Linked DNA regions of Homo sapiens: region 1 is linked to region 2. The links are contacts of gene promoters, found by promoter capture Hi-C in blood cells and fetal thymus (Javierre and others, 2016). All regions are on one chromosome and are shown on one strand. Each heading gives the region's core, a stretch centred on a gene start or on the middle of the fragment in contact. The rest is flanking DNA. Distances are from core to core; before and after follow the strand shown. Region 1 has its middle 24 kb from the start of CD24. Region 2 holds the start of CRYBG1 (crystallin beta-gamma domain containing 1).

The links. Contacts are between HindIII fragments. The CHiCAGO score rates a contact against its expected background, and 5 or more counts as called.
Region 1: a fragment that was not itself captured here is called in contact with the fragment with the promoter of CRYBG1 in region 2 in 10 of 17 cell types (neutrophils, M2 macrophages, M1 macrophages and 7 more); the score reaches 13.4 in neutrophils.

What each region holds. Positions count from the first base shown.
Region 1 is chr6:106,995,248-107,001,313 of GRCh38, reverse strand. No RefSeq gene overlaps it. Among named protein-coding and RNA genes, the nearest start is that of CD24, 24 kb to the right of the region's middle. The HindIII fragment of the contact is 1,804 bases long and covers 1,267-3,070 here.
Region 2 is chr6:106,356,174-106,362,234 of GRCh38, reverse strand. It overlaps CRYBG1 (crystallin beta-gamma domain containing 1), which reads right to left and starts at 1,518. Exons shown (of 22, transcript NM_001371242.2): 1 at 1,154-1,518. The coding sequence starts at 1,326. RefSeq lists silencers at 1,408-1,487, 1,508-1,717 and an enhancer at 646-1,512. The HindIII fragment of the contact is 8,941 bases long and covers 1-6,061 here.

The DNA of each region.
Region 1 (6,066 bases), core at 919-3,418, 640 kb before region 2:
ACCATACAACATCCTTTCTTATACAAAATTTCTTCTTTTATTTCTTTTCTTTTCTTTCTTTTTTTTTTGAGACAGAGTCTTGCCCTATCGCCCAGGCTGGAGTGCAGTGGCCCGATCTTGGCTCACTACAACCTCCACCTCCCGGGTTGAAATGGTTCTCCTGCCTCAGCCTCCTGAGTAGCTGAGATTACAGGTGCCTGACACCACTCCCGGCTCATTTTTGTATTTTCAGTAGAGATGGGGTTTTGCCATGTTGGCCAGGCTAGTCTAAAACTCCTGACCTCAAGTAATCCACCCTCCTCGGCCTCCCAAAATGCTGGGATTATGAGTGTGAGCCACCACACCCAGCCTTAAAATCTTTTCTTTATAACCTTCTTTGCATAGCTAGGGGGCATGGCTAATTCCACATATCCTAGTCTTTATTTAGAATCTAATGCTCCAAAGTAGGTAAATTGAACAATTTTCAAAAGACAAAGAAGCACTTTATGACCTTAAAGCATTTAGTAAACTTAATATCTGACTTGCATAATTTAGACCAAATGCTTACTTTTTTTTTTTTTTTTTTTTTTTTGAGAGAGTCTTGCTCTGTCACCCAGGGTGGAGTACAGTGGCGCGATCTCGGCTCACTGAAACCTCCACCTCCTAGTGCAAGCAATTCTCCTGCCTCAGTTTCCCGAGTAGCTCGGACTACAGATGTCCACCACCACGCCCGGTTAATTTTTGTATTTTTAGTAGAGACGGGGTTTCACCATGTTGGCTAGAATGGTCTCAATTTCTTGACATCGTAATCTGCCCGCCTCACCCTCCCAAAGTGCTGGGATTACAGGTGTGAGCCACCGCGCCTGGCCGGGAGTTTCTTTATTCCATTTCAGCAGGGCCAGAGATGTCCATGAAGGCCTTGGTGTGTGATGGAACAGACAGTTGTCTAAGGGGTGCACAATGAATGCAAGTTCTTCCCATCTCCGAGTCAAGGGTTTTCTGGGAAACAGTAGGGGATAACAACTTTCATAAATTTATACAATTATATACACTGAATTTATACGATTATGTACGTATATAATTATGTACATATTTGATTGTGTACACTGAGAAGATTAAGCCAACTCTTTCAAACTCATGGAGTTTACTTCTTGAAATTGAAAGGCCTCAGAGATAAGCCTCAGAACCAAGTTCCCTCTCTTGACTTTTCCCAGCTTTTCTGTCTCTTTGTTTCTCTTTCTTTCCCAGGAACTCTCTCTGGAATTTCCTTATCTGACTAACAAAGCTTCTTTCCAAAATAAATGCAATTATTTTAAGACCCCTCTCTCTAGGAACCTCATCAGATAGCCAGGAATGATCAACTACCCGAGAATAGAAGAGACTGGGAGTCATCACCATACCCAGATAGACTTTCCATCTATTTTTATTTTATTATGTAAATTTTAAATTATTAGTAAAAAAAACCTTTTTTTTTGAGACAGAGTCTTGCTCTGTTGCCCAGGCTAGAGTGTGCGATCTTGGTTCACTGCAACTTCTGCCTCCTGGGTTCAAGCTATTCTCCTGCCTCAGCCTCCCAAGTAGCTGGGATTACAGGCACCTGCCACTGTGCCCGGCTCATTTTTGTATTTTTAGTAGAGATGGGGTTTCACCATCTTGGCCAGGCTGGTCTCGAGCTCCTGACCTTGTGATCCACCCGCCTTGGCCTCTCAAAGTGCTGGGATTACAGGCGTGAGCCACCGCTCCCGGCCAAAAAAAATTTTTTTTGAGACAGCAGCTCACTCTGTCAACCAGTGTGGAGTACAGTAGCGAGATTACAGCTCACTGCAGCCTCTACCTTCCAGGGTCAAGCAATCCTCCTAACTCAGCCTCCACCACTTCAGCCTCCAGAGTAGCTGGGACTACAGCTGTGTGCCTGGCTTTTGTGTTTGTGTGTATGTGTGTGTGTGTGTGTGTGTGTGTGTGTGTAGACACAGGGTTTTGTCATGTTGCCCCGGCTGGTCTCAAACTACTGGGCTGAAAGGGCCCTCCTACCTCAGCCTCCCAAAGTGCTGGGTTAAAGGTGTGAGCCACTGTACGCAGCCTTCAACTATTCTTCTTCTTTTTTTTTTTTTTTTGAGACGGAGTCTCCCTCTGTCACCCAGGTTGGAGTGCAGTGGCTTGATCTTGGCTCACTGCAACCTCCAATTCCCAGGTTCAAGTGATTATCCTGCCTCAGCCTCCCCAGTAGCTGGGATTACAGGCACTTGCATCCACACTGGCTAATGTTTGTATTTAGTAGAGACAGGGTTTCCCCATGTTGGCCAGGCTGGTCTCAAACTCCTGACCTCAGGTGATCTGTCCGCCTCGGCCTCTGAAAGTGCTGGGATTGCAGGGGTGAGCCACCGAACCAGGTGGAGCTTTTAACTATTCTTCTGACAGCAGCCCTGAGAGATTGCCTGGGAGACTTTATCTGCATAATAAGACAACATTGATGGTCTGGGCGGTGGCTCATGTGTGTGTGTAATCCCAGCACTTTGGGAGACTGAGGCAGGTGGATCACCTGAGGTCAGGAGTTTGAGACCAGCCTGACCAACATGGTGAAACCCCGTCTCTACTAAAAATACAAACATTAGCCGGGCGTTGTGGTGCGCACCTGTAGTCCTAGCTACTGGGGAGGCTGAGGCAGGAGAATTGCTTGAACCCGGGAGGTGGAGGTTGCAGTGAGCCAAGATCATGCCACTGCACTCCAGCCTGGGTGACAGAGTGAGACTCTGTCTCAAAAAAAAAAAAAAAAAAAAAGAACACTTGTTCACAGTAATAGTCCACCCCTCACCTTCCTGCCGCCTTCCCCAGTGCTCAAAGGAACTTTGTCCCCAGCCATCGTTCTTTGGCTCATTCATTTCCTTTGGAAATCATTTACTCCTACAACCCCTGTCTCCCTTTCCCCATGGAGAAGAATATAAGCAGCCGGGCCTCATCGGGTTACTGGGTAATCATAGTCTTGTGATTTTCTTCTATGCACATTAAGTAAATTTCGTATGCCTTTTTCTCCTGTGTATCTGCATTTCATCAGTTTATGCTCTGCAAACCTTCAGTGGGCAGAGAGAAAGCTTTCCCTCTGCCCCCAGTGTGGCAACAGGCCTGACTGGGGCAATGCTGCTGCCTTGCTTTTGACGCCCCCCACACACGACCGCGTCCCCCTTTCTGCTCTGTGGAACGCCTCCAGCCCCTGCTGAGGCTGGCTTGCCCATGGCAGAATGTCACCTCAGGTTGGGGGCCTTTCAAAATGCACCCCAGAGAGCTCTCCTGGGAGCCCACGTCTGGAACGTAGAGCTGAGTGTCTCTGGCTGACGTTGGAGGATGGGCAGGCTGCCCATGATGCAGCCCCTTTCCTGCTCTGGCACAGCCTTGACCTTTAAATTTCTCATTCTTTTTTCTTCTTCCACTAAACTCTAAGAGATAAGTGTTTGTCTCTCCCGTTATTCCCCTAAGAGCACCTCTCACTGGACTGGGGTGAGGAGAAAGCGCCTTTGCTCTGCAGTTCCTGCAGGGGGCGCTTGGCACCTCACTTTGGAACCTGAGAACTTGTTTTGTTGAAGGCCTTTGAGCTTCGGTTGAAATGGAGACAGAAAGGACTTCCATGTTCACATCCTGTTACACTCTCCAGCATAAATATGATCATTTTCATTTTACAGGAGGCTCAGAAAGGCAAGTCTGTGGTGGAAGTGGGTGAGCTGAAATCTGAGCTCAGGTCTGCTTGATCCTGTAGGTTACAGATGAGACAGAAATGATATGCCCTGTTGTACCCAGGGTGGCCACATCTGAGGCTCTAAGACAAATAAAAAATTACCACCATAGTGGAAAGATTAAATTCTCATGTACAACCAAATCAAAGTCTTCATATACAGTTAGAATAAAACACAAATTTCAGAAGAATGACCCACATACGTGTCGGTTTATTAGTGAGTGAAGATGTGTTTTAGAAACTGGTTATATAAATCAAAAAACTACCATCGAAGGGCTCTAAGATTAGCCAGGAGGCTTAATAGTATCCTAATTTAAGAGTTACTTGAAGATATTTTCTAAGATTGCTGTTTCTGTTGAGATATAAAATGGCTCTTAGCCTAGGATGTTAATAAATTCAAGATAAAGTGAGTAGGCGGAGTTAGAGTAAAAGGTGGCCTTCCTCTCATTGTGCTTGGATTCTGGTGGTTCCTGTGTAGAAATTCATTTGCTGAGGACTTATTATGTACTAGGCACTTTACTAGGTACTGGGGAAAGGAAGATGAACATGATGTGGTTCCTTTCTTTAAGGAGCTCAGCTGGTGAGGAAAAAGCTGCAATCCCTGTTACACGTACAATGACAGAGGAAAGCTTGGGGACTTGGGGGATGCAGGGGTGGACACTTCAGAAAGGCCCTAACCAAGGCTGAAGGGTAAGGGATGGCTTTCCAAGGAGATGACACTAATCTGGGTCCTGAGAAATGCATAGAAATCATCCAAGCAAAGAAAGACCTTGGCTTGCGTTCTTCCTTGTGTTGTGCTGGGCCCCCAAACAGGCAAACTGGGAAGGCACAGTCACCGAGAGACCGAAGAAAAGACCTGAAGACAGTGGGTAAGACATAGAGTTTAGGGCGGGCATGGTGGCTCACACCTGTAATCCCAGCACTTTGGGAGGCTGAGAGGGGCAGATCACCTGAGATCGGGAGTTTGAGACCAGCCTGATCAACATGGAGAAACCTGGTCTCTACTAAAAATACAATATGAGCTGGGCATGGTGGCGCACGCCTGTAATCCCAGCTACTCAGGGGGCTGAGGTAGGAGAATCACTTGAACCCAGGAGGCAGAGGTTGCAGTGAGCCAAGATTGTGCCATTGCACTGCAGCCTGGGCAACAATAGTGAAACTCCATCTCAAAAAAAAAAAAAAAAAAAAAGACAGAGTTTATTCAGGGGACTTATGTATGGAGTGTCCAAGAGTGGAAGGCTGGACAGGAGTTCCACTGCCTTTTGTGGAAAGCATGCAGGTTAGTAGGAACTCCCACACAGCAACCTCTACTTAGCAACCTCCACCTAGCTTAAAACAAAGGCCATTGATTTATTTTTTTTTCTTTTTTTGAGAAGGAGTCTTACTCTGTCTCACAGGCTGGAGCACAGTGGTGCCATCTTGGCTCACTGTAACCTCTGCCTCCTGGGTTCAAGCGATTCTCATGCCTCAGCCTCCCGAGTAGCATGGTGGGCACGTGCCACCATGCCCGGCTAATTTTTGTATGTTTTTTAGTAGAGATGGGGTTTCACCATGTTGGCAAGGCTGGTCTCGAACTCCTGACCTCAAGTGATCTGCCTGCCTTGGCCTCCCAAAGTGCTGGGATTACAGCCGTAAGCCACTGTGCCCAGCCTAGGCCACTGGCTTCTTGTATGACTTGTGTTCCAAGGAACGAGGCCAGGGTCCAGGTGTTCTTCATGCCCCCATCTGTGTCCCTGCTCTGAGCCTTCACACCTTCATAAGTACAGCGTAAACATCCAGGTTGGCCTCTCCCAGAGTCCATAGCTCAGAACAGTGAACAAACATTCACCAAAGAACATAGGGTCAGCCATGTATGGCAGCTCATGCCTGTAATCTTAGCACTTTGGGAGGCTGAGGCAGGAAGATCATTTGAGCCCAGCAGTTCAAGACCAGCCTGGGCAACACAGTGAGACCCCTGTCTCAAACAAACAAACAAACAAACAAACAAACAAACGGCCTGGTACAGTGGCTCACACCTGTAATCCCAGCACTTTTGGAAGCTGAGGCAGGCAGATCACCTGAGCTCTGGTCTCATTCGAGACTAGCCTGGGCAACATGGTGAAACCCAATCTCTACCAAAAATACAAAAATTAGCCCAATGCGGTGCTGTGCACCTGTAGTACTGGCTACACGGGAGGCTGAGGCAGGAGAATCACTTGAGCCTGGGAGGTGGAGGTTGCAGTGAGCTGAGATCGCACTATTACACTCCAGCCTGGGTGACAGAGTGAGACTTTGTCTCAAAAAAACAAAGAAAGAGAACCTGGGGTCATTCTCAGGGTATGCTTGAATTATTGTTATCTGGCAAGACATCCCCACCATATACC
Region 2 (6,061 bases), core at 269-2,768:
CACTTTGGGAGGCCGAGGCGGGCGGATCATGAGGTCAGGAGATCGAGACCATCCTGTCTAACACGGTGAAACCCCGTTTCTACTAAAAATACAAAAAATTAGCCGGGCGTGGTGGCGGGCGCCTGTGGTCCCAGCTACTCGGGGGCTGAGGCAGGAGAATGGCGTGAACCCGGGAGGTGGAGCTTGCAGTGAGCCGGGATTGGGCCAGTGCACTCCAGCCTGGGTGACAGAGCAAGACTCCGTCTCAGAAAAAAAAAAAAAAAAAGAAAGAAAGAAATAAAAGGAAAACCATGTCTAAAATGCAAATTTTGCACAATTTTATTCTGGCCCTCATAGGGTGTATTTTAAAAACACATTTGGAAGGATTTACTGGACATTGTCAATTGTCCATCACTATAAATATTTCACACCTCTGAGCCATGTAAATACGCTGTTACTTCAAATTGATTATTATTCAACGAATGCATAAACTCTGATGCTATAGTTGAATAATTATACATATAGAATAAAACCACTTCAAAACCATGATAAAAATCAAAAAGCACAATGGTAACTACAGTTTTGATAACTAGGTGCTCTCTAGCTCTGCCACTGGCTCCAATGGGGAGAAGCCATTTATCCTTTGGTCTCAGTTCCTCCACCCATGAAATGGGGGTAACCATTCCTGCCACTTCCTCCTCCCTTCGTATGTTGCGAGGAGAATGGGGGTATAACATCTGTAAGAGCACAGATCTTACAGATATTCACAATAAAGAGCTTTACAATAAAGACACTAGCTCAAAAGCAGTGCCTAACCCCAAAGCAGAGTTCCCGCCATCATTTAGGACGGTAACAACCCTCACTCCCCGCCGCTCTGGTTAGCAGGCTGATGCGGGAGGCTCCTGCATGAAAACTTTGCAGTCATACTAAAGGCCACATGCGTGGGCACAAGTTCCTCTCGCCGGTGCTTGGTCTGAACCAAAAGCCGCGAGGAACCTCGTCAACCCCAGCGGCTACGATCGCTCCCCTCCGGACCCGGGTACCCTCCTGCGGACTGAAACAGACCCCGGGGCTTTCCCCTCCTCCAAGTGGGGTCAGGAGTCCAAGGGCTAGCGCAGCAGGAGAAGGAGGAGGAGGAGGAGGTGGGACTGGAGGGCTCGGGCGAGGAGCTCACCTGGCCTCTCCGGCAGGCGCCGGGAGCGGGTGCGGAACGAACACCCCACAGTCAGGCGGCGCCGGCTGCTGCTTCTTTTTGGAGCGCCAGAGGTGGAAGGTGGTGTGCTTCTTAGGGGGCCTGCACGGGCTGGGCTCCCCGGGGTCGCCCTGGGCTGGCGGGGACAGCGGCATCGTCTTGTCCTCCTCCCGCTCCGACTGCCGGGACGCGGTCCTCTCTGCCGCCCGGGCCCTATGGAAGAACACACCTGAGCGCCAGCTCGCCCGCCTTTCTCAGCGCGCCGTGGGACCCCGCCCCCTCGTCGCGGATGCGGGGGGACGGCCGCGGGTTGCAGAACCAGCACCCAGCGCAGCGCGAGCAGCACTGCAGCCCGAGCTGTTGGGGCGGAGGCGGGGACCCAGCCGCGGAAGAGCGCCCCCGCGCGGCGCGGGCGGCAAGGGGCGCTAGCCCAGGTGAGGCGCTCGCGCCGGGAGCCCCAGGTGAGGCAGACACGCCCCGGCTCCCCACCCCGGGGGCGCGCGGCGGCCGTGGGACAGCGACACCTACTGGATGCTCTGGGCACCGCGACTCCCGACACTGCATCCCAGGCTCTAAGATGGGACCCAGAGCCGGGTCGGGCTTCCACAGCGCCTGGGGTGCAGCGGCCATTGTCGCCTGCGGAGTTGTTGGCCGCTCTTGGCCTGTGACAGGCTGGCAGGGTGAGTCGCTGCTTAGCCACGAGCCCCGCCTGGAGAAGGATGGGAGAGGCACATCCCGGGGCTGGGCCGCCCAGCAATTAGGACTCTTCCACTCTGATCTCTGGGTGGCTTGGGCAATGTCATGTGCTGGTGGCTTCTGTTCCTGTTCGTGAACACGGGTGGCAACTCCGCCAACTCGTCTCCTCTCTCAAGAGTCTGAATAATTAATTTGTACTCACATCTCATAAAACACAAAAGGATTAAAAAAATTAAAAACGCCAGAAGGGAATTAGGCATATTCCCCAATTCCCCAAGAGCTTAATAGATCCCTCGCAGTAAATTAAATGCCAGTCCCACAAGGTATTTACATCATCTGCATTACTGTTGATGACTTTCTTGTCTTAACTTCACAGTCGTGGCTAAATAGCAAAGGAAATTAATACTTAAGCAAAGTAAGTAAACGAACAATTATTTTGGGCATCATTAGAGCAAAGAAAGTGCAAGAACTAAGCACTACTTAAAAATTCAATGCAGTACAAGATCCTCTTTCACGGTAATGTCTTTATTTTCCTCTTTGAAAACACAACTCATTCATTCGTTTATTCACTCATTCAAGGAACATTCATTTTTATTTGTTTTTATTTACATTTTTATCAAGATGTAATTTATAGACAGTAAAATGCACAAATCATAAGGGTAAAACTCAAATTTTTACATATTTATGTGGTTGGGGTGTGAAAAGTTTTTTAATGGAGAGTTGACATTGTCCTAGAAAATTCTTCCGTATGTGGCTTTTAAATGTATGATTATAGGCCAGGAGCGGTGGCTCACGCCTGTAATCCCAGCACTTTGGGAAGCCGAGGCAGGCAGATCACTTGAAGTCAGGAGTTTGAGACCAGCCTGGCCAACATGGTGAAACCCCTTCTCTACTAAAAATACAAAAAAAAAATTAGCTGGGCGTGGTGGTGGAGGTGCGCCTGTAATCCCAGGTACTCGGGAGGCCGAGACATGAGAATCGCTTGAACCCAGGAGGCAGAGGTTGCAGTGAGCCGAGATGGCGCCACTGCACTCCAGCCTGAGCAACAGGATGAGACTATGTCTCAAATAATAATAATAGGTAAATATATATGATTATAAAAATATAGAATACTTTCAAAACTTTAAAAATCTCCCTACTGTCCTCTTCCAGTACATTACCCCTCCCACCTGTAAAAGTTAACCATTATTTCATCCTCTTTTGCTGGAGATTAATTTGACCTTTTCTGGAATTTCATTTTAGTGGAAAATCACAATATGTACTCTGTTTCTGGTTTGCTTTGCTCAATATTAGTCGGTGAAAATCATCTATATTGTTGCTTATATTGTAGCAGTTTTTTGTCTTGTTTTGTTTGAGACAGGGTCTCACTCTGTCACTCAGGTAGGAGTACACTGTTACCATCACCTCTCACTGCACTCACTGCAGCCTTGACCACCTGAGCACAAGTGATCGTCCCACCTCAGCCTCCTGAGCAGCCAGGACTACAGGCACACACCACAGGACCGGGCTTTTTTTTTTTTTTTGGAGGGGGTACATTTGTAGAGACTGGGTTTTTCCATGTTGCCTAGGCTGGTCTCGAACTCCTGAGCTCAAGTGACTTGTCCGCCTCAGCCTCCCACCAAAGTGTTGAGATTACAGGGGTGAGCCCCTGCACCTGACCCATAGCAGTTTTTCATTTAAAAAAATTATTGTATACTGTTCCATGATATGAATATGCCACAATTCATTTATCCATTATTGTGGATGGACATTAGGTTGTTTCCAGTTTGGGGCTATTATGAATAAAATTGATATGAACCTTCTGAGATGTACACATTCATTTCTGTTGGATACTTATACCCGGAAGTTCAATCGTTGGGTAATACAATATGCATATGTTCAGCTTTAGTGAATTCTGCCAAAAAAGTTTCCCATTTATATTCTTTCTAGCATGTTTGAAATTTCCAGTTTTTCAATATCTTCATCAACACTTGATATTAACAATCCTTTTCATTGTGGCCATTCTGATGGGGATGTGGTGGTATCACATTGCAGTTTTAATTTATATTTCCTCAAGAAACAGTTATTGAACTTATTGAGTACTGTACTAATTATGTGCCAGGCCCTGACTTGGGGGAGGAGGCAATGACAGATGCATAGATTATATCATATATATATATATATATATATATATATATATATATATATATATATAAAATCATCTGATATATATATCATGTGATATACATATATATGTACACAAACACACATCAAAGGCTAAAAGAATCAGTGGTGGTATGTACAAGGTATTAGGGGAGTTTAGAAAAGTTACTAACTTAGCGTGGTAGTTTGGAAGGGAGGAAGGGGAGTGGTCAGTAAAGATTTACTATGAAGATGGCCCTTGGATTGAACCTTAAAGGGCAAAGGGAACAGTAAGAAAAGGCAAAGAAAAGGGAAAGGGAAGAAGGGAAAAGAGAAGAAAAGGGGGAAAAGGGACAAGAAGAAATCTTTATGCACACTCAAAAATATTTCTACGTTCAGTAACTTAGTCTTTCATTCCTGGCTTTTCCAAGCAGAATTTTTCACTCCACCCCTCCTTTGTGCCACCAGTGAATCAGAAACATATTTTTGTTATCACACCTTTCAGGTTGCATCAAACTGGTTTACATTTCTATATCTCCTATTAGCCTCAGAGAAACTTAAGAACATTTCTCATTTATTCTTATATTTTCCAGACGCAAATGTCCAGTAAGTAAAGTAAGTAATCAAATGAATTGGTGTACTCACTCAGTTGGACACCTAGGATGTTTCAGACAGGTCTTTTTTTCTCTTTTTTTTTTTAAGAGATGGGGTCTCTCTATGTTGCCCAGGCTGATCTTGAACTCCTGAGCTCAAGTGATCCTCCTGCCTCAGCCTCCCAAAGTGCTGGGATTACAGGCATGAGCCACCATGCCTGGTCTCAGACAGATTTTTTAAATTGTACACTTCATAAGAAAAAATCTTACAAGTCTCTTTTTCTCAATTATGTCCTCAATGACTAGCACAGCGTATGGCGCAGTGTAGGCACTCAACATGTATTTGTTATAAGAGTTAAGAAAGTAGAACTCTGCATAGAAGGATAAGACACAGTACCTGAGAGTAATGTAGTGGGAGAGACAGATACTTAAGAAAACATGAATAGTGAAACTTGGTAAGTGTCCTAACCAATGTGGGTCAGTTGTTGTTTTTCAGTCACTGCAAGAACGAATCCACTCAGACTTATTTAGGCAGTAAATTAACCTACCACGGGATTTTAGGTGGCCCATAGAATATTCGACAGAGCCAAACAGCAAGACTGAAGCCCAAGCATCCTCAACCACTCCAGGTAGCTGTTTTGACAAACACCACTCTTACCATCTCTCAGCACTATGGGCTACATGACAGCCACTCTGCCACTGGCCACCCCAAGGATCAAAGGCCTCTTCACACCCATCTTACCAGAAGATTAATTTCCTGCCTCACACCCATTACCAGCGCATGTATTGCTCACTTCAAGCAAAAAAGTTCCCTGCAGGTACATCTGATTAGAAGAGCCTAAGTTATTTAACTGTTTCCTAGCTACAAGGGAAATTTGGGATCTGGGGCTTCTACCTCAGAGAAATGGAATTCATGTGGCTAAAATTTGCCAAACATAATGGAGGTATTCAAAATAGGCAAGGCAGCCAAAAGTGTGAACAGTGGTGACTGCTGGAGGAATGGGCAAAGGGCTACGGGAACACAGAAGAAATGACTAACTCTTCTGATTGGCTCAAGGAAGTCATCAGCAGGGAGGTGACAGGTTTATGAGCTTAACTAATGCATAAGAATTTGCTAGATGAAGAAGAGAGGGTGGACAGTCCAGGAAGAGTAAACAACATGGGCTGAGGCCCAGGCTTGTGAAAGGACATGCATTGCTGGTGAGGAATAATCAGAAGCTCAGTGATGCTGGAGAAGAGAGGGATGGGGTGGGGCAAAGTGGCAGGAAGTGATTCTGGTAAAATCAGGTATAAATCATGCATAGATGATATATATCAAAGACTAAAAGAATCAGTGGAGATATGTACAAGGCTTTATGGGGGTTTAGAAAAATTACTAACTTAGTCTGTAGTTTGGAAACGAGGAAGGGGAGTGGTCAGTAAAGATTTACTGGATTGCTAAGCACTTGGTAAGTCATGCTTTTAAGGAGTTTGGACTCAG